Linked DNA regions of Homo sapiens: all the other regions are linked to region 6. The links are contacts of gene promoters, found by promoter capture Hi-C in blood cells and fetal thymus (Javierre and others, 2016). All regions are on one chromosome and are shown on one strand. The core of a region is centred on a gene start or on the middle of the fragment in contact, and the rest is flanking DNA. Distances in the headings are between cores, read along the strand shown. Region 1 holds the start of HMGCS1 (3-hydroxy-3-methylglutaryl-CoA synthase 1). Region 2 holds the start of PAIP1 (poly(A) binding protein interacting protein 1). Region 3 overlaps C5orf34 (chromosome 5 open reading frame 34). Region 4 overlaps NNT (nicotinamide nucleotide transhydrogenase). Region 5 holds the start of C5orf34 (chromosome 5 open reading frame 34). Region 6 holds the start of OXCT1-AS1 (OXCT1 antisense RNA 1). Region 7 overlaps CCL28 (C-C motif chemokine ligand 28).

What was found. The method cuts DNA at HindIII sites, captures the fragments that hold promoters and counts their contacts. A CHiCAGO score of 5 or more calls a contact.
Region 1: a contact is called between a fragment that was not itself captured here and the fragment with the promoter of OXCT1-AS1 in region 6, in 4 of 17 cell types (non-activated CD4 T cells, naive CD4 T cells, naive CD8 T cells and 1 more). The highest score is 10.2, in non-activated CD4 T cells.
Region 2: a contact is called between a fragment that was not itself captured here and the fragment with the promoter of OXCT1-AS1 in region 6, in 2 of 17 cell types (non-activated CD4 T cells and naive CD4 T cells). The highest score is 9.1, in non-activated CD4 T cells.
Region 3: a contact is called between a fragment that was not itself captured here and the fragment with the promoter of OXCT1-AS1 in region 6, in 1 of 17 cell types (non-activated CD4 T cells). The highest score is 5.1, in non-activated CD4 T cells.
Region 4: a contact is called between a fragment that was not itself captured here and the fragment with the promoter of OXCT1-AS1 in region 6, in 1 of 17 cell types (non-activated CD4 T cells). The highest score is 5.3, in non-activated CD4 T cells.
Region 5: a contact is called between the fragment with the promoter of C5orf34 here and the fragment with the promoter of OXCT1-AS1 in region 6, in 6 of 17 cell types (non-activated CD4 T cells, fetal thymus, neutrophils and 3 more). The highest score is 11.9, in non-activated CD4 T cells.
Region 7: a fragment that was not itself captured here is called in contact with the fragment with the promoter of OXCT1-AS1 in region 6 in 1 of 17 cell types (non-activated CD4 T cells); the score reaches 6.3 in non-activated CD4 T cells.

The regions. Positions count from the first base shown.
Region 1 is chr5:43,312,844-43,316,360 of GRCh38, forward strand. It overlaps HMGCS1 (3-hydroxy-3-methylglutaryl-CoA synthase 1), which reads right to left and starts at 569. Exons shown (of 11, transcript NM_001098272.3): 1 at 513-569. RefSeq lists enhancers at 339-478, 729-958, 965-1,481, 1,482-1,996, 2,091-3,290. The HindIII fragment of the contact is 1,495 bases long and covers 1,455-2,949 here.
Region 2 is chr5:43,553,768-43,557,312 of GRCh38, forward strand. It overlaps PAIP1 (poly(A) binding protein interacting protein 1), which reads right to left and starts at 3,310. Exons shown (of 11, transcript NM_006451.5): 1 at 2,815-3,310; 2 at 2,063-2,232. The coding sequence starts at 3,079. RefSeq lists a silencer at 2,746-3,545. The HindIII fragment of the contact is 1,132 bases long and covers 722-1,853 here.
Region 3 is chr5:43,488,250-43,491,679 of GRCh38, forward strand. It overlaps C5orf34 (chromosome 5 open reading frame 34), which reads right to left. Exons shown (of 13, transcript NM_198566.4): 11 at 2,382-2,480. All of the region lies in intron 2 of C5orf34-AS1 (C5orf34 antisense RNA 1), which reads left to right. Among named protein-coding and RNA genes, the nearest start is that of C5orf34-AS1, 6.0 kb to the left of the region's middle. RefSeq lists an enhancer at 564-733. The HindIII fragment of the contact is 440 bases long and covers 1,575-2,014 here.
Region 4 is chr5:43,609,178-43,612,322 of GRCh38, forward strand. It overlaps NNT (nicotinamide nucleotide transhydrogenase), which reads left to right. Exons shown (of 22, transcript NM_182977.3): 2 at 1-169. The coding sequence starts at 19. Among named protein-coding and RNA genes, the nearest start is that of NNT-AS1, 7.5 kb to the left of the region's middle. The HindIII fragment of the contact is 1,511 bases long and covers 1,086-2,596 here.
Region 5 is chr5:43,513,618-43,517,227 of GRCh38, forward strand. It overlaps C5orf34 (chromosome 5 open reading frame 34), which reads right to left and starts at 1,531. Exons shown (of 13, transcript NM_198566.4): 1 at 1,189-1,531. It overlaps LOC124900190 (a long non-coding RNA gene), which reads left to right. Exons shown (of 3, transcript XR_007058764.1): 2 at 576-3,610. RefSeq lists an enhancer at 1,139-1,298. The HindIII fragment of the contact is 8,167 bases long and covers 1-3,610 here.
Region 6 is chr5:41,867,940-41,871,308 of GRCh38, forward strand. It overlaps OXCT1-AS1 (OXCT1 antisense RNA 1), which reads left to right and starts at 2,091. Exons shown (of 3, transcript NR_046635.1): 1 at 2,091-2,253; 2 at 2,352-2,443; 3 at 2,827-3,369. OXCT1 (3-oxoacid CoA-transferase 1) reads right to left here and starts at 2,486. Exons shown (of 17, transcript NM_000436.4): 1 at 2,342-2,486. The coding sequence starts at 2,419. LOC102723752 (a long non-coding RNA gene) reads left to right here. Exons shown (of 3, transcript XR_925956.4): 1 at 1-1,663. RefSeq lists enhancers at 2,123-2,202, 3,033-3,082. The HindIII fragment of the contact is 3,584 bases long and covers 1-2,838 here.
Region 7 is chr5:43,392,618-43,396,047 of GRCh38, forward strand. All of the region lies in intron 1 of CCL28 (C-C motif chemokine ligand 28), which reads right to left. Among named protein-coding and RNA genes, the nearest start is that of CCL28, 18 kb to the right of the region's middle. The HindIII fragment of the contact is 3,529 bases long and covers 402-3,430 here.

The sequences.
Region 1 (3,517 bases), core at 952-3,451, 1.4 Mb after region 6:
CACTTCCCTTCTTTCCATCAACTCTATATGTGGCAGCAGGACACACCCCCTGCGAACCTACCAGCCTCCGTCTAAAGAGGATCTTGCCCATCCTTTGGCGTCCACCCTTAACCAACGCTCTGGAAACGCCTTGGTAGCCCAACTGTCTTCTCTCCCCCTCCTGACACCCCCCACTCACCTCTAGGCGGTCACAGCTGCCTCTCTGGCACCTCCAACTCCTCTGTCGTTAGAATACCTAGACCTCAACGCCCTCTCGCGTTCTCCCCTCCGCGACTCGCCTGTGTTCTCGGATCTTCTCAGATCCGCTACGGTCGGCCTCAGGTCCCTCACGAGGGAACCCCCGCCCGGCCCCGCTCACGGTGCCCCATCCTCCCGGGCAAAGTCCACGCCTACGTCCTGACCCAGAGCCCCAGCTCCTTCGGGCCTAGTCAAGGACACCGCCTCTGTCTGGCCCACACCCCGCCCGCGGCACCTCCGCAGCCCAGTTCTACTCCCCAGCGCGGGACACTCACCAAGCGTGACCGAGCGGCAGCAGAGGAAAGGGAGTGAGCCACGAAAGGACAGTCCGCGGCGCCTCCCCTTCGCCACCAGCTTTATAGCCGCCAACCCACCCGACTCCGGCACCGCCGAGAGTCGCTGGGAGGCGGGACGGTGGCTCCCACAGCCAATCGCGGCCGGTAGAGTTGCCCGGCAGCGCCCGCCCCCCAGTCCGGCTTCTACCAATCAAAAGGAAACTAGAGGCGATGACTCGCTAGGATTTTCCCTCGTGGCTGGAAGGGCGGGGAGAAGAGGCGGGGACAAAGTCTCAGGGCCGAGGAAGTGGTGTGAGAGACTGACGTGAGGTGGCACGAGAGCCCAGTTGCCAATGACGGAGCTGCGAGATACGGCGAGAGCCAACGGGAGCGGAGTGAGAGGTTCTCCGACCAATTGGGACTAAGTGAGAGGAGATGCGGGCCAATGGGTACTCCGCGTCCCACCGCTGGAGAGATGGTCAAATGTGGGAGGCGAGGTGGTCCCAGCTTGGGAGTCTGTCAGGTTGCCTAGCAACCAGAACTAGGCTTCACCTGAAAGATTTCTGAAATACTGTACTTGATTTGAATTCAGTCTTAACGTTTTCTAGCAAAGTGTGCGTAGATTGCAAATTGGAGCAGAATACTTCACCCAGAACTTGTATATGTGTAAATAGTCTAAATACCCGATTTGTAAATACTCAAATATTGTCTCCTTTATTCAAAACTACCTTGACTTAAAGAAAACAGAACAAACAAAAGTGCTCTTGAGACAAAGCTTTCTAACTAAACCTAAAACAAAATGGTTTCAGGATTAGGCATCCGTGGGGAGGGTGCAGAGCCTTGCCTGTGAAGGGAAGTTGATACTGAATTCAAGGATTTTTGCCAGGCCATGCACTCTGAGGAAAGGGACTCCATTTGGCCTGTTGCCCACTGTATCTTCTAAGCTTCATATGTGGTACCTGCCAAGTAAAAGGCTGTGGAAAGGCCACGTAATTGTCGGCATAGTAAATCCATCGGATACGGACTGCCTAACTCCCCCAGCAAATAGAGAGGAGCAATTCAAGCTAGAGGAATTCACTGAAACACTATTTGGGGGAATCCAAAGGAGGACACTTGTGGCTTTGCAATAAACTCTGCCTCTATCTGGTCAGAGAGAGAAGCCATAATACTTAGCTTTGGTGGGGGACCATGAGTGAGGTTCGGAGTTGTTTGTATCTCTCCCCATCTCAATTTAATTAACAGGAATGCTATTGATAAGGGGTCATTGGTAATTCTGTGATTCACACAATTATTGTTATGGGAGATTCTTTTAACCACTATAGATGCTAACCTAGTAAGACACATTCTCAGCAGCAAAGTGGCAAAATATATTGGAAATGGAACCACTGTGAAGTGGTGGCATAAATGACTTGGGGGAAGAGGACCACTCAGTAATGATTTCCATTCCACAGTATTGCCCATGACTCACTTCATATGTATGTAAAGTAACTAGATAGTAAACAGAGAGAGAGACATTGCCTGATTATGATCAACAGCAATTTGGGGTGGGGTAGGAGATTAAAATTCTTGGCATATTGGAATATGCTGAAAGGCAGTAAGGACAAACACAAGAAAGAAGATACAGTTTTGTCGTTAGGAATCGCAAATAATTCCAACTCCAGGAGTACATAATGGGAAATGATTAGCCAGACGGTCATGAGAATGACCATCTTACACAACCGGAAATTTCTACAAGGAACAGACCGTCTTTTTGATCACGTTAATCTTCAATTAAGCAAAGTGAGCATGATTATTGATTACTGGGAAGCCAAGCAATGGAGAACAAAAAGGGTTAGTAATTAGATACAGAAGATCTTGTTATAAATAAAGTTTCCATGCTGCAAAAGAAATAGCAGTCGAATATAAAATTTTCTTTTTAATTCTCAGCAAGGCAAGGTACTTCTATAGAAGGGTGCACCCTTACAGATGGAGCAATGGTGAGTGCACACTTGGACGAGGGAGGGAAAGGGGTTCTTATTCCTGACGCACGTGGTCCCCACTGCTGTGTCGTTCCCTTATTGGCTAGGGTTAGACTGCACAGGCTAAACTAATTCCGATGGACTAATTTAAAGACAGTGATGGCGGGAAAAATGGTTATGAAATGAGTCAGGGTGAAGAATGAATTGGAATGAGTCAAGGTGGAGTACGTAATCAGAATGAGTCAAGGTGGAGAATGAGTCAGGTTGGAGTAGGTAATCAGAAAAGGTTGCTTTACTAGGAAGCTACGTTTAAAAGTAGAAGGCAAAGAATGGAACATACTGACATATTAATTCTTTGAAGAGAAATTTAGAATTCATATTTAACAACTTCCTCCTCTTGCATTTTTCTTACAGCTTTCTCTTCAAACTTATTTAACATGTCTTGATTTAGTTGTTCTGCTTGATTTTCCAAAAGAAGAAGCTTTTCTGGATGAGGTGGAGGATAGTTAAGGGAGGTTTTAGTAAGTACCGTTTCTATGAGCCTCTGCACCAACCCACAGATGCATGGTATGACACAGCACCTGACAAGAATAAGTACACCTATTATGACTATGAGGGAGGTAAGAATTGGGGCTATTATTCCTTTCCATTTACCGAACCACTTTTCTAGCCATCCTGTAAAGGGATCATTTACCCGTGAGTTGCTGGCTAACTCATTGGATAGAGCAGTCAGACCTCACAATGCCTTTGTTATACTTCCATTAGGGGTGGCGTTGTTTGGGATGAAGGTGCAACATTGAGTTTTAATCATAACGCAAACTCATCTTCTTTCTGCTAATATCATGTCTAAGGCTATCCTATTTTCCCAAGCCATCTGGCTAATAGCCCCTAATTGCTCAGCTATTCCTTTAACAGCATCTCTAGTGTAGTTAATACATCACTGTTGGTTGTAATAGATGTCGTTTAACCAATCTGCATTTTTATTAATTGTCACCCACCAAAATATTGACTCAAATCCTGCAGCTATTTGATTTCGGGCTTTAAATT
Region 2 (3,545 bases), core at 38-2,537, 1.7 Mb after region 6:
ATTACAAATGAATGAAATAAGCCAGAAAGCAAATTAGAGCTCACAGACTCCATCTAAAGAGAATGCCTCTACTCAGCTCCAACCAATTTTTGCTGTATCAAAATGCCAGTCCACTAAGGCCAGATTTTATGACAAACCAGAACATTCAAGTTTCTAATATCTAATTTAGGTATTGGTTAATTAAATAAAACAACTTAAAGAAAAAACAAACCCATTCAGGGCTAGAGAAGACACCTGCAGGCCACACAGGTTTCCAGGTGCCAGGCTGCAATCTGTTTTGGTAAATTGAGCACAGGAGGTGCTGATCTATTAGAGGATGGCAAGGAATGCCTAAAAGATGCAGTGGCTCAAAGTAGGTGGACTAACATGACTTTATATACTGCTCGACAGCCCCAAAGTCACTTGAACCACGTAAAAATAGTTGATACACGATTATTACATACACAAACACACCCCTGTATCCCTCCATCATAAAACAGCCCAAGTCAATAGGGAAGAAAATAAATGGGAACCTGCTTGTAGCTGCTAGAACAAGCATCCTTAAGAGTTTATTCAACCTCTTACAGTGGCTCTAATGGTTCTTTTCCTCTGTGAGCTAAATACAATTTTCTGGCAAGAACTCAAGATGCTCTCATTTCTACCTTACACGATAGATGGCCTTTTTCACCCCATATCAATTGCTTTTCCTGCTATGCCTGTATCTTTTTCTTTCCAATCCCAAAGCTTTTTCCTATACAGCATAAGAATCATGGAGTATCTAAAACATGGAACACAGCTTTTTCCATACTTTTACTGTCAAATATGGAAGGAGAGCCAAAAAGAGGTAATAAAAAAGGTGTGTCATTATCAGTTATAAGGGAAATATAAATTAAAACCACAACTAGATACTATATGCCCACCAGAATGGTTAAACAGAAAATACCAAGTGCCGACCAGGAAGCAGAGTAACTGGAAATCATACACTACTCAGAATGTACAGTGGAACAATCTCTGGAAAACTACTTGGCAGTCTCTGCTAAAGCTGGCTACCCTAAGTCCCAGCAACTCCATACCTTGGTAATATACCAAAAAGAAATAAAGGCATACAGCCAGCAAGACACAAAATGTGCCCTATTCATAATAACCCAAGAGTGAAAGCTACCAACGTTCATCAACAGACAAATGGGATATATTCATGCAATGGAATGTTATAAAAATAAGTCACCTCCAATTATATGCTACAATATGGAGTAATCTTGATATTGAAAGTGAGAAAGAATATATTCTATATGACTTTATTTATATAAACTTTGAACACAGGCAAAACTATCCTATGAAGTCAAAACAGTGCTATACTTGGACATCAAGAACAACTGGAAGGAGACAGAGTGGGTTTTCGGGATGTTGATAATGTTCTATTTCCTGACTGGGATGCTGGTTAGTTGAGTGTTCACTTTATGAGACTGAGCTAACACTTAAGTACACTATTCTCTGCTATACTTCAATAAAACTAAGAAGATAGGAAAGACAGGATTTAAGCTAAAGTATCATCAATCATTTCTCCAATGATTCCCTCCCACTTCTCTATAATTAATCCCTATGCATTTACTCATCTGGGTTTATCCAGTACAACAAATTCCTTTCTACATATTCCAACTGTGCTTTGTACGGCTATTTAAGAAAAGTGACTATTTTTTAAAGTTGTTATATAAGTGACAAAGAAAAACTGAAAGTTTAAACATTCTTTATACCTATGTAAATACTTTATCACAACCCCGTAGGACATTTCTGCATACAATAATTAGGATCAAAACTATGTCTATTTTAACATAATGGAATAATCACTAGAAACAAGAACACAGATGTGTATCTCAAGCTTACATTCTAATACCTTGAATATAACTACAAAATGTATTTCTGAATCAGCTTTGTTTCCTTCTGAGTTCAATAATTCAAAACATTCACAATAAAAAAATTTTTTTACGTGTAGTACAGAAAGCACAAACATACTCTGATTAACAAAGTAACAACCACATTATTCCAGTAAATTAACCCAGAGTTGTAGGAAAAAGGGTGTACTTACTGTGTAACTGGAAGAATAACCTGAAGGGTAAAATTCAGGGGCATTCACAGACAGCTTAGACATTAATACAGGAGCTACAACCACCTGGGGCTTAGCCATTGCTGACTCCGAGTTCTGCTGTGGGATTTTATCCTGTGAACTAGGTGGAGCTCTCAGGGGCCTCGTTTGCTCTGCAAAAGAAAAAAAAACGGGGCGTCAGATGCATTCTTTCCTTTGTACAGCAACTTGCTATATACTGAAAAACCATCTGAAAAGCGTCTGTTTTTAAGAGTTAAACAGGAACCATCATGAAATTTATGGTTATCGCCGGAATGTGTACAGACAGCCTACAAAAAGGAACAATAGACTTGCTGTGACTCCGTTATGGGCATACCTGCCTCTCAAATGAGTGCTTGCGAGCTTTTTTCCTCTCTGTCGTTTTAAAGGGGTCGGTGGAAAAGAGGTGGTTACTCGCTAGGGTCTCGCTTTAGAGGGCTGCTGAGGGGAGGCGATTTTTACTTCCTCCCGGGACCCCGAACTCCGAGACCGCGCACCCGGCCCCTCCCCCCAGCCAGGCGCACAAAGGATTCCAGCAGACACCTTCCAAACCCGGTTCCGGGCCCGTCCCTACCCGGTCACGCGGCCCTCTCGGGGAATGCTTTCGGGGAACCGGGGGTGGGGACCGCAGACAGCGCGTCGGGCCTCGGCACGCGTGGAGGGCCGTGGGGAAGCGTTCGCCAAGGAGGACTGGGGCCCTTAGAGCTGCTCCGTACCTGGGAGCGCCCCGGGCCGGGAAGGCCGCTGGGGGCTGGCGGGGACCTCGCACTGGGCCCCTGGCGGCGGGGTCGTCCTGGGCTGGCGCAGCGGCGGTGGCTGCAGGAAGCCCGGGGCTTTGGGTTGCGGCGGCTGGTGCCGCGCCCGCTCAGCAGGCCCCGCTCCGTTCGGGAAACCGCCGCCCTCAGGCCCGCCCCCTCCGCGGCCCAGGCCCCGGCTCCGGCCCCGACCAGCACCTGGGGCCCGATCGAAACCGTCCGACATGCTCCTCCTCCTCCGCCTCCTCCTCCAGGGGCCGCTGCCGCTGCGCTCGCGATAGGACGCGGGGGGAAGGCGCCGCGGGTCGGCTATAGCCGCCGCGCCTCACTCGGGCCTCATGGAGGAGGAGGGCGGCGGGCCCCGGCTCGGCTGCTCGGTGCTTCTGGCGGAGCGGACGGCAGCCCGAGCACCCGCCGCTCCAGAGCGCCCGCCCCGCTCGGCTACCCTCGGCTTTCCAGTTCTCCCCCAAAACCCGGCTCCCCGCCTTCGGCGCGGCAGGGGCGCAGGCGGGTCACAGCGGCCCCCTGCGGCCCGGAGGCCCGGGACGCGCCCGCGAGGATCCTCCAGTTCGCGGCTGGCCGGCCGCCGGGCCCAGCAGGCCGCCCGCCGAGTGGCGTCTTGGCCACCTGCCGGCCCGCAGCCAGGCTCGGGCAGGGGCATCTCGGTTCCGGGGCCAGGCTGGGGGGGATGA
Region 3 (3,430 bases), core at 545-3,044, 1.6 Mb after region 6:
AGCTTACACTCTACTTTCCTCCCTAAAGTTTACGCAAACTTTACAAACCTATTAAAATCCCATTCCTTCTGTGAAAGAACTGCTCTCTCCTTCCTTGAATTCCTATAGCATATTAATTAATCACATACTTATTTGTAATATCTTCTCTTGAACTATTTAACTTCCTGCTCTTCCTACCTAGATTGTTTCTCTCAGAAGAAAGGATTTTTTACTTTTCTGTACTTGTGCATATATTAAGACCTCATTTATATGGAACTCTTTGGGAATGGATGGTATGGGAGATCCAAGTTTTTAAATAGTTGAATTACGTGTCAAAACAACTATTTTTTATTAAATTCTTTCTGGAATAGACTACCTACTTATTTCATTGTTTTTTTAAGCACAGAGGGTTAACATGATGAACATTAGCTCTTATACCATGTTCTATAGAAAGATAGTGGGACAACTGGTATGGAGTAGAGGGCTAATATATACGTCTCCAGCAGAACCCCTAAGTGTGTGTTCTTTATCCTTTTTCTTATCAAGTTAGAATGAAATATGAGCAATGGCATACAACTACAAACTGTAACTTGACTAGCTCTCTGCAAAATTAATGAAGACATTAGTCTAAAATATTCAAGTCACCAGAAAAATCTTCACAGTTCGTAGTAGGTTGTGTGACTTGTCTGCTTTATTGGCTTTACTACAACAGATCACATGCACCTCCCTGTCAGCTTGTACTCTTTCCCTTGTACTCCAGCCTATGGATGGAGAATGAAAAGAAATATTTCATAATTTTAAACACCTGTGGCAAAGAACTTGGATACAACTTACCCCAACAACCAGCTGATTGTTCATTATTGCAAAATATCTTTTTTTTTTTAAACCCAACGCATTTTTCTGGATGTAAGAAACAATACAACCTTTATTGTTATTGCTCTCATAATGAACGAACTTTTTATGAAACGTACTATTTGTTGACTAAAAAGTTGAATTAATAAGCTAATAATGGAGGGTGTGGCGGAAAAAAAATACTAGAATACAACTTAGGTAGCTTTTTATTGTACAATCTTGTTTCTTCCTTCAACCTACCCTCTTTGATAAGAAAAACCGAAGTGGAGATACCTAAGGCTTTATAGGGGGAATGGAGCTACTCCTCAATTTCTTTATCTTGCCTCTGCTGTTCCTAGTTGCTTTCACCTTTAGCTACTATCACCAATCTCTACTTGCAGTTTTTAGTGTGTATTGACAGCCTCTTCTCAGCTTTCAAATAAAAAGGCTGATGATATTTTACAAACTGCCAGCTAAGCAATGGTGAAGTGATGGTTTTATAGACAAGTACAATTTTCCTTCCATCACAATTGTTTTTTGCTAGTTACTTTAGCAACTTTTCTGCTTCCAAACAGGCTACAGCTAAAGGATGAGGGATCTGCAAAGCTGGATCCTTAAGCTACCTGAGATATTCAAATAACGCTTACTGATATGATTTGATTTGTTCTAAGAAAGGGCTTAGGAAAAGGTAACAAAAATTGGCTTAATGTTTACATTTTGTTTCACTACACTATGTTAGGTCACCTCACAAAACTTACTTAAAAAGCTTCCCAAATTGTTCCTGGTATCCCTGTCTTCCCATATATTCAGGTTAGACTCTCAGTGACACTAATCTTCTAATGACCTTTCTTCCTATCATTTTTCCATTTAGGACTTTCTAATTCCATCAGGTCTGAACTCCTATTTATTATAAGATCCATTCCTAGCCCTCAAAACTCATACTATATACTAATAGATAGCATATGTTCCATAAAAACTATCTTCTATCTCCACAGGCTAAAATATCCTTTTTACTTCTGCCCTTATTTCCTCCCTAAAATGTCTTATATTTTCACAGAAAGTTCCCTTGAAGCCCAGTTCTAGTACCCTGCACACTGAAAAGCACACAGGAGGGACTAAAATACTTGCTTTATTTGATCTGCCAGTTAATTTGGGAGAAGTAACTAATATGACAGAAATTATTTAAAAATCAATGTTTTCTGAAAGCTTATGTTATTAAACCTTTTATTTCCTTCAACATTACTAAAAATTTAAGAATCCCCTTTAAATTTTTCCATAAAGTTTTCAGGATGAATTTGTCACATAAAAAGAGCCACTCATTTTCATGTTAAGTTTTCAATGCAAGGTTTTCTTACCTTTAGGTAAAATAGAATATGATGAAATGTAATAAATTAGATGTCTGATTAGAAATTATTTTCAAGCTTAAGCTATCAAAAATACTTTAGGAGTTAAACATATTCAAAACTAAGAAAGTTTTTTTGGGGAAAAAAGTCTCAGTTTACCATTTGACATTTTAATTTTTTTTAAAGTATTAGCTCTTCTAAACAGATTTAAGTTTAAAAGAAAAATACCAATTTTCTTGGAGAACAGAAGATGACGAATGAGTGGGCATCTCTCTGGGACTAGTCTGGGTCAGTCTCCTGCACCATGATGTTACTGTTGTCACATATCTAAAGTGAATACATTAAAAGAAATACTTGAAAAATGAACTTGAATACATTATAAAATTATAAACAAATGTAAAAATAAGACAATTTGGGAAAAAAGGATAAAGAAAAAATGTTAAAGTGAAGCATTTACTGGGCAATTCTCAAAATATTTTTCACTGGTCATAGAAAAGCCAAATTTTTTCCATTATTCATCAAGAATAAAATGATTTACTTATATTTGTGATTAATACAAGTGACATTTAAGAATCAAAATAAAGGCGATATTTGGATTTCATTTAAAGTTCAATTTTAAATGTTCTAATTCTTTTAGTTTTTCAAAGTAAAATGCGTTTAAGTTTTATCAAAAAATATTCACACAAAATAAGACTGACTGAGCATTTGCTTACTAAAATTTAAACCAAAAAACACCTGCTAATGCATATACACATATGCTTGTATGCATATGTGTAATTATATGTAACTTACTACATATCTAAAACAAGTATCAAGTTTAATAAAATGAATGATCTGAAATGATTGGCTGAATCAATAGAAATGTTTGCTAAAGAAACTATCTTTTTTGAGGCAAATCATTAATAGCAATGAATGAGCACTTAGACTGAAACACAATAAAACCCAACAGAAAAATACATTCAAGAGGTAACAAAAAGCTATTATTTTGTGAATATTCTCAAGTGAAATCACTAAAATGTGAAGACTATCACAAGATTTACTGTAATAAATTAGATAAACCAAAAGAAAAAAAATTCATAAAAAGCTGAAGACTCTTCCCCATTTTAAGATAATCATTGCGTAATTTTATCCACTTTATAGAAATATACAGAATTTCAGTTATTTGTGGTTGCAAATCTTATTTCAAATTGGCTAGAGGATTAGTTAATTGTTAACACAGCTGACCATATCCAACCTCCACAGCAAATCAGTATGTCTATAACACATTTCATTTTGAA
Region 4 (3,145 bases), core at 591-3,090, 1.7 Mb after region 6:
TTGGGAACTCATATCAACATGGCAAACCTATTGAAAACAGTGGTGACTGGCTGCTCGTGTCCTCTACTTAGCAATTTGGGGTCCTGTAAGGGTCTACGTGTGAAGAAGGATTTTTTACGAACATTTTATACTCACCAAGAACTGTGGTGTAAAGCGCCTGTAAAACCAGGTAAAGTCTCACTTCAGTGATTGTAAATGAAACCTTCAAGTCATAGGAACTAATAGATCTGATGATTGATAAAAGGAAAAGCCATGTAGTTTTATGGCCTGGTGCTTGTGAGTGATCATTTTAAACAAACAACAAGTAAGTGCTATCTTGTATTTTCCATGTACTATAGACGTTCCTGATTTCCAGCGCTAACAGAGAAGACAAGGTAATAGAAAAAACAAACAAACAAAAAAGATAAACCAGTTGAGTTGTCCCTGGAGCCTATTGCTCATAATAACCATTTCTCCTAGAAGCCCTTCCTAATTCCTTGTTAGTATTTGAGAATTGTACCATATACAGCTCATCTATGCTCAGGAATTAGGAATTAAGTATATTAATTGGTCTACATTAATGCTTTCCAATTTAGTTAGTAGCAATTTGATTGCAGTTGCTCAGGTCAGAAACCCTGGAGTCATTCTACATCCTCCTAGTAGGTATAGGTCAGCTCCATCTCATATCTACAAACTGTCCTCTTCTTGCCATTGCTACTTTTATCATCTTGGTCCAAGCCATCGTCATCTGTCACCTGTACTGATGCACCAGTCTTCTAAATGTCTCTGTGCTTTTTACCTCTGCCCCCTACAGTCTGTTCTGCACAGGACAGTGAGAATAATCTTTTTAAAATGTACAGTCATGTCACTCCTCAATTCAAAATTTGCCACTTGCTTCCTAGCTCTTACAGAGGAAGATCTGAAGTCTTCCAGTGGCCTACAAGGCCTTCCCTGATAGAATGTCTCCTTGCTTCTGTTCTGGGGTACAGGCCAGAAGGAGGAGAGGCTAAAAAGGGGCCCTTCTAAACCAAGTCAACTGTCTGTCTTTTTTTTTTTTTTTTTTTTTTAAGCAGCAGCAAGATTTATTGCAAAGAGCGAAAGAACAAAGCTTCCACAGAATGGAAGGGGACCCGAGCAGGTTGTCCCCCAAGTCAACTCTCTTTCATCAGTCTTGCCCAAAGATCATCCCAGTACTTCTGTCACTTCACCTCACTGTCCAGAACTCAGACATGTAGCTGTAAGGGAGACTTGGACATTTTGCTGTAAGGGAGACTTGGACATTTTGTCTTTTATTCTAGATGGCAATGTACCCAGCTAAAAATGGCATTTTCTTATTAAGGTGAAGGAACAGGATGGATATTTTGGGGGGCAACCTTTGTCACCTAGAATAATGCCCTCTTTTGTTTTTTAAGTTTGTAGGACTGTTTGTGGATTCATTAAGGACCTCTAAACTGCTAGGTGTTTTGAGATCTTATGTCTGCCTTGAATAGATTTTATAGCCTCTTTTCTTGTTCTCAGATGACAAGTCACAATTGGCAGGGTATCTGTCCCTACAAGCCTCCAACTTTATCTTCAGATGCTTTCTTTTAAATTGCTCTGGAAAGCCAGATTATCCTGGTGATAAAATTGTGTATAAAATAAAGGTAAATAACTGTTGAAGACATGAAAACTGTCCTTGTGAGTAAATCCATGGACATCAAGATCTCTATATTGATTATGTATAAGACATTTTTGTTTAATTTCTGGTTCTTCACTATTTCCTAATTATTTTTATCTCTGAAAGATAAGAAGTCTATTTTTTCCTTAATATAACCATAAGTTCATTACCATATTGAAAAGTGTAGTAAGTAATTCCAGCTACAGTCAGTATTCATATTTTTTCAATTGCTTTCTTGCTTCTTTCCTTCCTTCTTTCCTTCCTCCCTCCCTCCCTCCCTGCCTCCCTCCCTCCCTCCCTCTTTTTCTTTACAGTTGGCTTGTTCAAAGAGTGATCCAAACAGGGTCCACACATTGTATTTGCTATGTCTCTTTTGTCTCTTTTTATCTATAAGTTCCCCTCTCTTTATTCCTTTTAATATACTGAAGAATTTCATTGTTGCTCTGTAGAATTAACAACATTCTAGGTTTGGCTGATTGAATCCTCTTGGTATTGTTTAGCCAGTTTCTCTGTCCCTTGTATGTGCTTAAATTATCTCTTATTTGGTCAGTGGAAGCCCTTTCAAATTGGCTTCTAAATCCTTTTGACATGGCTTCAGTCATCTTTGGTAGCTTCCTTGCTTTTGCCATGTAGAGCCTGACAATTTGAGGTTGTCAGCTAAGTGAACTTGAGATGAGTGTATGTGATTGAGCTTTGTATGTCAATCCAAATATTTGCCAGCTTTCTATTATTTTCCTCCTTCTCCTTCCAGTAAGGAGTAAGATTCAGCATTATTTGCCTTTCGTGTACTGTAAATTATTACTATATAGGTAGTGTGGAATCTAAGACAGTGTTCAAATTCAGGTCTAGGTTGACTTAATTTCTCTAAGGTCTTACTTAATAAGTTACTTTGTAGGGATAATTTCATTCATTTTGAAATTATACATATTCAGATCTTAGGTTGCAAGAATGGGTTTCCTAAGCTTTAATAAACCTTATATAGAAACAGATACTCTTCATTAAAAAATGTTTATGCTGCATATTAAGTAAAACATCAGGAGAAACTGATGTCCTGTAGCTAAAGATGGTCTGAACCATATCTAAATATAAGATTGTACTATATAGGCTTTTTTGGGTTGCAAGGAACAGAATCACATCAGATTATATTTTGTGATGAGGGTTTGCTATGTGGATTCTTGGCAAGTGTGAGAGCCCAGAAACCCCCCATCTACTCCTTGGATAAGTGGAATGTTATTTGTAGAATTCATGGCTGTGACCCATCTTCTCTCTTTAAATATCTACTACTGATGTTTCTATCACTGTTACTGCTGACCTCCCTTTGATTACCTCATAGCTGTGCTTACAAATAATATTTGCACTGATCTACTCTCCTTGTCCCTCTCTGTGGGTCTCCCATTTAAACTCCTTGAGAGAGAACCCAGTGGGTTGAGTAGTCACTGGCCAACATAGAGCGTCCTTGGACAGAGTTCCTGTCTAAGTCATCTTATAAGGTGCAGCTGCTAGTTTTCC
Region 5 (3,610 bases), core at 281-2,780, 1.6 Mb after region 6:
TTCTACAGGGCACTTTAGATACATTGGCATTTTAAATGTTCTTTAAACAAGCTCTTTCCCATCTTTGCAGTTCTTTCTGCCTGCCTTGTCTTTTCCTTGGCTAATCACAAGGCTGGTTCTTTATCATCATCAAGGTTTCAGCACAAATGTAACTCCTACAAGGGCCCAACGACCAACTAAGTTAAAGTTACTCCCAAACATCTCCCAATCATTTGTCATCCCTCTTCAAGTTTTTTCTTCATAGAATCTATCATCAAAATTGATTATTTACTTGCTTTTTATTTTCTCCCACTAGGATATAAAGTCAACCGAAGCAGGGGCCTTATCTGTCTTATATGTAACAGTATCTCTGGCATCTAAAACAGTATTAGGCAAATAGTAAATGGCACAATAAATATTTGAATGATGAAAAATAAGTAAACTGCTCCTCTTGAATTTGCAATTTGAATTAATGGTGTCTCATTGTTAGCAGCCAATATTCTAAAACTTGACTTTCCACTCCATGCCCCTGTAACAAGTCCTGTTGATTTTCTGTCTTTGGAACCTGACTCTCTCTACCTCTTTCTCTTTTTCAGGCCATAGACTCTCCAACTCCTGCAACTGTCTGGAATTTCTTCTCTCTCCAATCCATCTCTAGTATTGATGACATAGGTAACTTTCCACAAGTCACACCATACCAAGTGCTTTACATCACCTGTTTACGTACTTATCAAATGGCAATATAGATTACAGATATATATATAAACACACACGTATATATCGGGTATGTCTACTTGGTATTTTAGGGGAAAAAACGGGTGCTGATACATAGATGGAAGACATTTTCTGATTCCAATTTGGGAAAAATAGTCTATCTTTGGTCAGGTCTTTTTTTTAATAGCTTTACTGAGGCGGTTTTCTAATTTTAAATAATCAAGCATACACAACAAACAGTGTAATGACTAAGGTTCTTGGCATACCATAGGAAACCATAACCCGGCTCCAACCCACACTGCCATTCTCATCTCTACAGTCTCATTCCCGCTTGCGTTCTCATCACCCAGCACATTACGTCAGGGTATGTTTAACACTCAAAAATCCACAAGTCTGTTCTTGACATGAATGAGAATCTCATTTCTTTCAAAATGCTATAGTCTCTAGTTACAGAAGGAGCCTGATCAAAACAACCACCAAAAGTCTTCCACTCACAGCAGTTCGGAGCCGAAAAGTTGCGGAAATGAGGCCCAGCAACGGTCCCTGGCTTTGATTTGCCAAAATGCTCTGGAAGCCGCAGCGTCGGCGCCTGCCCACCACTGCTTCTTCAGGGGTTTCTTCAGTTTGACAAATTACCAGCGAGTGATATTTCTTGGTGAAAGAAAAAAATCACAACCCTAGAGGAATAAGGTGGCAGGGAGAGTGTTTTGGCCAAGATGCCCGCCACGAAACAGGAAAGCGGAGACAGCGCCAACTGTAACCACTAAGAGAAAGCGCAAACCGCACAAGACCAGTTCAAAACCAGCGCCCTCAGGGAGCCGCTTCAGAGCTCCGCAACAGGGAAGACAGGAAGTCCCGCCCCTCCACAACAGGAAGGGCCGGAAGTCCCGCCCCTCCACTCCGGAGGCTGCCCTCGCTGCGTTCCCTACGAAGGGCGGAGCAGGAATTGGTGTAGGAAGGGGACGGGTGTTTCCTTGTTCGGAATGGGGTTGGCTCCTCTTTGATTTTTTACTTCTGGTGACCCACGCAAAAGCAGTCCCGACCTGGTTGTATTAATAATAAAGGCTGTAAGGATCAGCCTTTTGAACGGTCCAGCCGAGAACTAACCACAGAGCGCGTTTTAGTGGAGTGGTACTTATTTTTAAATAAGGTAAAAAACGATTATACTTCAGTAAAGCTGTTTAGAAAAAAAAAAACTTGGCCAAAGATGGAGAACTCTTCCTAATTTGGTATCAGAAAATAGGTCGTCTATGTATCTGCACCTTTTTTCCTTATAAAGTGGCAAATAAATGTGTCTGCTATATTTATTGCCACTAAACAAGTGTTTATGGAACACTCACTGTGTGTTTAGGCATAGTGGGGATAAAGCAGGGAAGGTGGCCCAGTTCTTTGCGGGTGAGGATCAGAGCTAGAGATTAACTGGAAAGAAAGAATAAACAATCATTTATTACAGTTGTGAGTGTTTCTAAGATAAAATACAGAGGTTTGTGAGAGCATAGAGAGGCATACCTTGTTTTATTGTGCATTTTATTGTGCTTTGCAGATACTGAGTTTACTACAAATGGAAGGTTTGAGGCAACCTTGATGGAGCAAGTGTATGGGTGCCATGTTTTTCCAACATCATGTGCTCACTTTGTGTCTCTGACATATTTTGGTAATTCCCACAATATTTCAAACTTTTTCATTATTTTTGTATCTGTTAGAGTGATCTGTGTGATCACTGATCTTTGATGTCACTACTGTAATTGTTTTGGGGGACCACAGATCATGCTCATACATTATAAAATGGCGAACTGAATCTGTTACAGGTAGTTAGGCATGAGCAAGGCAGGAGAGGGCTCTCCCCTGCCACCCACCCACTAGAAATGTTGGGTGATGGTTCAGCAATTATCACATGGCCTCTCTAAAAATGAAAATTTGGCAGCGCCAGGGAAAGGCCATTTCCTGATGGCCCACACCTGTTAACATCAAAATGTTAATTGAATGCAGGCCCCAGAGAGAAGCAACTTCCTGGGCATGCCGGTTAAGAGACAAAAGTGATGAAGTATGATTTTTCTGATACACTCCACCGGAAAAAGGAAGAAAGCCTCAGATGGGCATGTGTATAAATCCATAAAATCACTGTGTGTGCTCACTTCCCAAGGGTAAAGAGGGCTCTGAGCATGCAGGGAGCCCATCCTAAGATCATGGTTAAATGCGGCACTTGACCTTCTCTCTCTCTCTCTCCTTTTCTTTTTCTTTTTTTTTTGAGACGGAGTCTCACTCTGTCGCCCAGGCTGCAGTGCAGTGGCGCGATTTCAGCTCACTGCAATCTCCGCCTCCCGGGTTCAAGCAATTCTCTGCCTCAGCCCCCTCCCCGAGTAGCTGGGATTACAGGCGCCCACCACCATACCCGGCTAATTTTTTTGTATTTTTAGTAGAGACAGGGTTTCACCATCTTGGCCAGGCTGGTCTTGAACTCCTGACCTCATGATCCACCTGCTTCAGCCTCCCAAAGTTCTGGGATTATAGGCGTGAGCCACTGCACCCGGCTGGCCTTCTCTCTTTAACCTTCACATGCCCACTTGGGTCTCTTCCATGCGTACCTTCCTTTCTTTCCTGTTCTAATGCCTGTTTAAATAAACCTCCATTCCTACTCTGGAACTTGCTTCAGTCTCTTTTCTGCTTTATGTCTGTCAGTCAAATTCTTTCTTCTCTGAGGAGGCCAGGACTGAAGTTGCTATGGACCTGCAAGGATAGGCTGCTGGTAACTTGGGGTAACTCAGATCTCTTCCACTAGTAACAAGTCGATTGATATATATTGTGTGTGTCTGGCTGCTGTATTCACTGGCCACTCTCATCTCTCACCCTCTCCTAGAGCCTTCCTATTCCTTGAGACACAACAATATCAAAATTAGGCAAAGTAATACCCCTACAG
Region 6 (3,369 bases), core at 841-3,340:
GTCCATGCCAGATAACTCTGAAAGGGGCAGTCAGTCCCCAGACCAGCAGCATCAACATCACCTGGAACTTATCAATGCAAAGTTTAGGGCCCCACCCAGGACCTATTAAATTAGAAATTCTGGGGGTGGGTACAGCAATCTGTTTTAGAAAACCTCCAGGTAATGCTGATGCACTCTCAGGTCTGCGAGACACTGGGCCTGCCCATTATAAAAATGTTAAACATTTAAGAAAATAACTATCTCGTTTTAGCTGTTAGTTATGTTTAGTGGAAAAACTCAAGGTTTCTGTTTGCCTGGAGGGTTCTCTCATCCGTACTTTAAACATGTGTAGAATATCTGATCTATGCAGAGTAGTGTGTTTGTTGAGGGAGACTAAGTGTAAGGCATAAATATGGTCTCTGCCATCGGGGAACTGTCATCTGGTTGAGGAGACAATATACACATCTGAAAAGTTAAACAAGTAGATAAGTGGTACAGTTCAACAGAAGCAGCAGGTGAGGATTTAAAGTGCTAAACAATAAGGGCTGTAATCCCAGCACTTTGGGAGGCCGAGGCGGGCGGATCACGAGGTCAGGAGATCGAGACCATCCCAGCTAAAACGGTGAAACCCCGTCTCTACTAAAAATACAAAAAATTAGCCGGGCGTAGTGGCGGGCGCCTGTAGTCCCAGCTACTTGGGAGGCTGAGGCAGGAGAATGGCGTGAACCCGGGAGGCGGAGCTTGCAGTGAGCCGAGATCCCGCCACTGCACTCCAGCCTGGGCGACAGAGCGAGACTCCGTCTCAAAAAAAAAAAAACAATAAGGGCACTAAGAGCCACAAGCTAGGGGAATAGTGGAAGGCAGGAGTTAGACCTATGATAATCAAGCCTGACAGGGCTAAGTTTGAACTCTGTATGAACTTTTAATGAGATATAGCAGAACCCCTTATTTGCATCTCGTCCCTCTAAGATGAGGTTTGCTGAGCTTCGGAAATGGTTTAATGATATACTCAAGATGGAAAAGACTTGAAGTGAGTAAATTACAGTTGGGCAAATCAGTAACTGTCAAAAGAAGGAACGTTCCTGACCTCGGCCCAAGGGTATCGCTGTGCTCTGGTTTGTATTAGCTTCAGCACCGCTGCAATCTCACTGAAGGTCAAGTTCCCTTTTAATAATGCTTTATATATCCAAGTCTATCTGCAGTTATAAAAATGCTTCCTAAGAGGCATTTAAGAGTAAAATGGTCCAGTTCTGAACCATTCCCTAGCACCTACCGAAGGAGCTCAGTGGCTCCTCTGTGTTCTCAGCGGTCAGGGATTGGATGCAGGAAAGAGCAATGGGGCCAGGCAGGCACGCTTCAGGAGTAAGCACCGTGTGCATGGCACGCTGTCAAGCTCAGACCTATTACTGAATACCAAGGAAGAGGCTCCCGCGATTGAGACGGCGGGGATAAAGCCACCCTCCTGGACCTGGCGCTCTGGTCCTGTAATTCGCTCCTAGGGCTCCAGACAGGGGTGGGCTTACAAGCGAGGACAGTGCATAAGGCAAAACCACAAGTCAGTCCACGGTGGGAATGCCTCCGGATACCACTCGGTGGAGAGTCGGCAGTGGGGCACAAAAAGGATTTCAAAGGGCTCTGAAAACCGAAAGCCCCTAACCCGGATACGAGGGGCCTCGAGAGAAAGGTTTGTCCTCCCCTGCAGCCCAGGCGCGGGCCAGGGACACACCTCGGATGGTTTCCCAGCTTGGCCGGCAAGACGCCCTGGCGAGCGCTCCAGTCTACGGGGCAGCAGAGCCAAATAGGGAGGAGAGGATGGGAGCGGCATTCCACACCCGCCGCACCCGGCATCCAGCCCCGGTGAACTCGAGCAGAGCCATGGCTAACCCAGCCTCAGGTTCTGGGCCTCTAGAGGTTCCTCTGCCCAGAGATCCAACATCGGGGGCGCAAACCTACCCGCTGTTGCCTCACTCCTAAACCTCCATATACTGGCGCCCTCCTCCCCCCGTTCAGACCCTCAGAGTCCCTATCCAAGGGCGGGTGCCAGGAGGGAAGCCGACGAGCGCCAAAGGGCTCGGGAGCGCTGCCAGGAGTCCTCCCGCCCCTTCTCAGCCTCTCCGCGCGCTTCTTTATCGCGTCTCGCTCCATCAGGGAAGCGACTGCAGAACCAAGCAAAGGCGGTCATCCGAGGGGCCGGCGAGGCCAGGAACGCGTCGCCGCGTGTCCGTGACCAGGGCACCGCGCCACGGATGCCAGATCCCAGGCTGGAGAGAGCGGGTAGGGGCAGAGAAGAAAACGCGGGCACCACTCAGGGTTTGGTCCACGTTCTTCCTGCCCATGGCCTTCCTCTTCCCCCGCACTTTACCTTGTACCAGGTTGCCCCAGATCCGCGGGCAGAGGCGCAGAGCCGAAGCCCGGAGGAGAGGAGTTTGAGAGCCGCCATCTTCGGGCGGTGAGGCAGGAGGAGGCTGCGGGTTGGAGCGCGCGTTTGAGCGTCGGTGCGCGACTGCGAAGGAAACCCGGGCGGGCTGGAGGCTCGACAGCGCGTCGATGACGTCCTCCCGGCCTTTCGAGCCGCACGCCACCGGCGCGCTGCTGGCTGCTGCTTTTAAAAGAAGTGAGGCTGGGCGGGGCCCCGGCGGGGAGAAGAGGCTCTGTGCAGCCGGGGCGGATCGCGGGGAAGTTCCTCTCAGCGCCTCAGGTGTCTGGGCGTGTGCAGCTGTGTTGGCGCACACTTGCCGCTACAGCCCTTCTGTCAGCCCTTTAGCTTCGATGGGGCGCTGGTGGCCGCCTCCCCCTAGGTTGTGGATGAGTCTTGGCCTAGGGTTCAGGGCCCTCCGGCCGCGGGAGGATCTCCCGCCAAGCTTGTTGCTTTTCCAAGTTAGTGCCTGGCGTGTGTGTGGGCTGCATAGGGGCACCCCTCGAGGCCCCCTTCTCTTCTCCCGCCTGGACTGCGTTCACGTTTCTAACATTTCTCAGCCCCTTCTCCCCACATCTGGCCTTGGCTTACATAGAGTAAGTTTGCTGTGAGCACTTGCCTCGAACTGTCGGTCAAGAGGTGTGAGCAACAAGGCTTGCAGAGGAACAAGATTAAGACTGGACCTCTGTGACCTGAGTTTAGCACACCTTTTCTTCCCCATCATCCAAGTTTGCGAATTTCGGGCTCTTTCTCGCACTGGAGTCCCAGCAACCCCAGAGATTACTAAAGATGCAACCATAAAAGCAGTATATTGCTTTAACCTTAGGCAAGTTAGATAACTTCCCTAAGCCTCAGTGTCCTCATCTGCAAATTAGGATTGCTTGTGATACAACGTCATAACGTTTCTATGAGTTAATTCATGCAAAGTTTATGGCCTTATTATGAGGAGTCAATAAATGTTAGGCATTATTATA
Region 7 (3,430 bases), core at 916-3,415, 1.5 Mb after region 6:
TGAGAGTTCCATTTCTGCACATCCTCAACAACTTTTCATAATGTCGTTTTAAAATGTTGCCAATCTGATGGGGTTGAAATTGTACCTTAATGTGGCTTCATTTGTGTTCCCCTACTGGTAAGTTATTAATCATTCACATTTTCTCTTTGAATTGCCAAATCTTATTTTTGCCAGCTATTTTTTTACCTTGATTTTTAAAAAATTATTTATAAGAACTCATAAAATATTTGGGATACTTATCTCTTCTCAGTAATTAGAAAATATTTTCTCCCCCTTGGTAAGTGTATCTTTTAACTTTGAAGTATTTCCTTACAGTTTGCCATTTATGTCTTATTTAGCAAATCCTCCCATAGTCAGATATCATAAAAATAACATAATAATAATTTTGTTTTAAAAAGCAAAGCTTTTTTACCCCTGTAATTTATTTTTTATAGATTGTGAGTCAGAAAAAAAGTTTTTGCATGAGAATACCTATTGTCTCAGAACTATAGTGGTAAATGAAATTTTTTTCTCCATTTACAAAGGGCAAAGAAACCACTTCCCCCTTTATTCCATACTTTTTAAAATGTATGTATTTTTTACTTAAAAAGTCTTTTCAAAAGATGGGGGTCCTGCCATGTTGCCCAGGCTGGTCTCCAAGTCCTGGACTCAAGGGATCCGCCCACCTTGGCCTCCCCAAATGTTGGGATTACAGGCATGAGCTACCACCACACCCATCCCTTTCTTCCGTTTTTTTTTTTCTTTTCTTTTTTTCTGAGGCAGAGTATCACTCTGTTGCCCAGGCTGGAGGGCAGTGGCACAATCTCGGCTCACTGCAACCTCCACCTCCTGGGTTCAAGCGATTCTCCTGCCTCAGCCTCCCAAGTAGCTGGGACCACAGGTGCCAGCCACCATGCCCAGCTAATTTTTGTATTTTTAGTAGAGGTGAGGTTTCACCATGTTGGCCAGGTTGGTCTTGAACTTCTGACCTCAAATGATCCACCCACCTCAGCCTCCCAAAGTGCTGGGATTACAGGCGTGAGCCACCGCGCCCGGCCTCCTTTCCTCCATTCTTAAGATGAGGTTCTTTAAAGACATAGTGTATCTTAATCTTTACTTTTGGATTGAGATAAATCTCTACAAGGATTAAGCCCACTCTTCAGTTTTTGTAATAATAGCTATATATATCCAAGGCCAAGGGCCAAATAACCTCCAGATGTATTTTTAAAAACACCTCTGGATTTAGCTCAGGGTCTCTCACAAGACGTGTAGAAACTGTCACAAGGTGTGACCCTTTTATCTTTTGAGGAGGTGAGAAGTTATTCTTTCTTCTGCTATGCTATATAAAATTCTGTTCCAATTTCATAGTCACTTTTGTGCTGCCGTACATGCTTGTAAATGTGTTAATGCTTACTCAGTAATACTTTTTTTTCTCTTCTGTATTGGTACAGAGGAATCTTTCATTGGCAGGATTGTTCTTTCCATAACAGAACCACCCCATCTCACTGATATGCAGACACTCCTTAAATCTTCAAGTTTACACATACACATAGGTCTGCTTCTGGGCTTTTTCTTCTGTCTCATGCTCTACTTATTGATCTCTGCATCAATTCCACATGTTTCAACTAAGACACTTTTTAATAAATCTCAAAACTTGATACAATAAGTCTTCCCACTCAATTTATTCTTCAAAATTGTCTTGGCTGTTCTTGATCCTTTACCTTTTAGATAAATTTTAGAATCAGTTTGCTTAGTTCTTTAAGAATTTCAGGAATTGTGGTTGGAATTGCACTAAGTTTACAACTAAGATCTGAAATATATTGTCTTCCCATTCATAAATATGGAATTATCTCTCTATCTATTCAGATTTTCTTGGTCCTCCAAGATCTTTATGAAGAAAATGATAAGATAATGTCGTATATCTTAGATCTATATTTAGGTACCTTATATATTTTGTTGTATTGTGAATGAACTCTTTAAAAATACTTTTTTCTAATTAGTTAATTTTTATGTATAAGAATTCTATTGATTATTTAATGTTGCTCTTGTATCCAGCAACCTTGCTGAATTTTTTTATTTTTAATAGTTTGGAGTAGATACTCCAGTTTTACAGGTAAATCGTCATTTTCATCTCTTTCTTCTCAATTCCTGTGTAGGAAATAAAGGATTTTTCTCTTTTAAAATCTGTTACTTTGCTAAATGCCTAGAACAGTACCTAGCCCATTGAAAGTTTTAAATTGCTGCGGTGGATTAATCTATTTTCTTCCTTGCCCTCCTGGGATAAACCATACTTATTCATAATATATTAATTTTTATATATTGTATAAGATATGCTATTTATTAAGATTTTTGCACCTCTGTTCATAAATTAATCTATACTTTTATACCCTGTTACCATCCTTCCATGTTTTGGGTATTAAGGGTATGTTAATCTCAACAATGCATTAGGTAGTTTTCTCTGTTCTTCCATCCTTTGAAAGAGTTTGTATAAGATAAAGATTTTCTGTTCCTCCAATTTTTGGTAAAACTTAAAAAACTATCTAGGCCTGGTGTCTGAGGAAAGATGTTTAAGTTGGATTTGTTATTGGCTTACTTGTATATATAATATATATATATTTACATATATATTTATATATTTATTATTTTTCCAAGAAATTGTTCATTTTATCCACAATTTCTACTTTATTCTCACAAAGTGTCATAGCTTTATCTCACTGTATTTGCAGTCATGGCTCCTTTTTTAAATTCTTAGTGTTTGAAGTGAAGGTTCCTGTGCAAAGTAATAGTTTAAAAGTTTGAGCCAGGTGTGGTGGCTCATACCTATAATCCCAGTACTTTGGGAGACTGAGGTGGGAGGATTGCTTGAGGCCAGGAGTTCAGGACCAGCCTGGGCAACATAGTGAGACCCTGTCTCTACAAAAAATTTAAAAGATTAGCCAGGCGTTGTGGCCCACCTACTTGGGAGGCTAAGGCAGGGGGATCACTTGAACCCAGGAGTTGGAGGCTTTGATCCTGCCATTGCGTTACAGGAAAGGGGTCCCCATCCAGACGCCAAGAGAGAGTTCTTGGATCTCGTGCAAGAAAGAATTTAGGGCCAGTCCGCAGTGCAAAGTGAAAGCAAGTTTATTAAGAAAGCAAAGGAATAAAAGAATGGCTACTTCATAGAGCAGCCCTGAGGGTGGCTGGTTGCCCATTTTTATGGTTATTTCTTGATGATATGCTAAACAAGGAGTGGACTATTCATGCCTTACCCCCCGCCTTTTTTTTTTTTTTTTTTTTTTTTGAGACGGAGTATCGCTCTGTATCGCTCTGTTGCCCAGACTGGAGTGCAGTGGCGAGATCTCTGCTCACTGCAAGCTCCGCCTCCCAGGTTCACGCCATTCTCCTGCCTCAGCCTCCCCAGTAGCTGGTACTACAGACGCCCGCCACCACACCCGGCTAATTTTTGTAT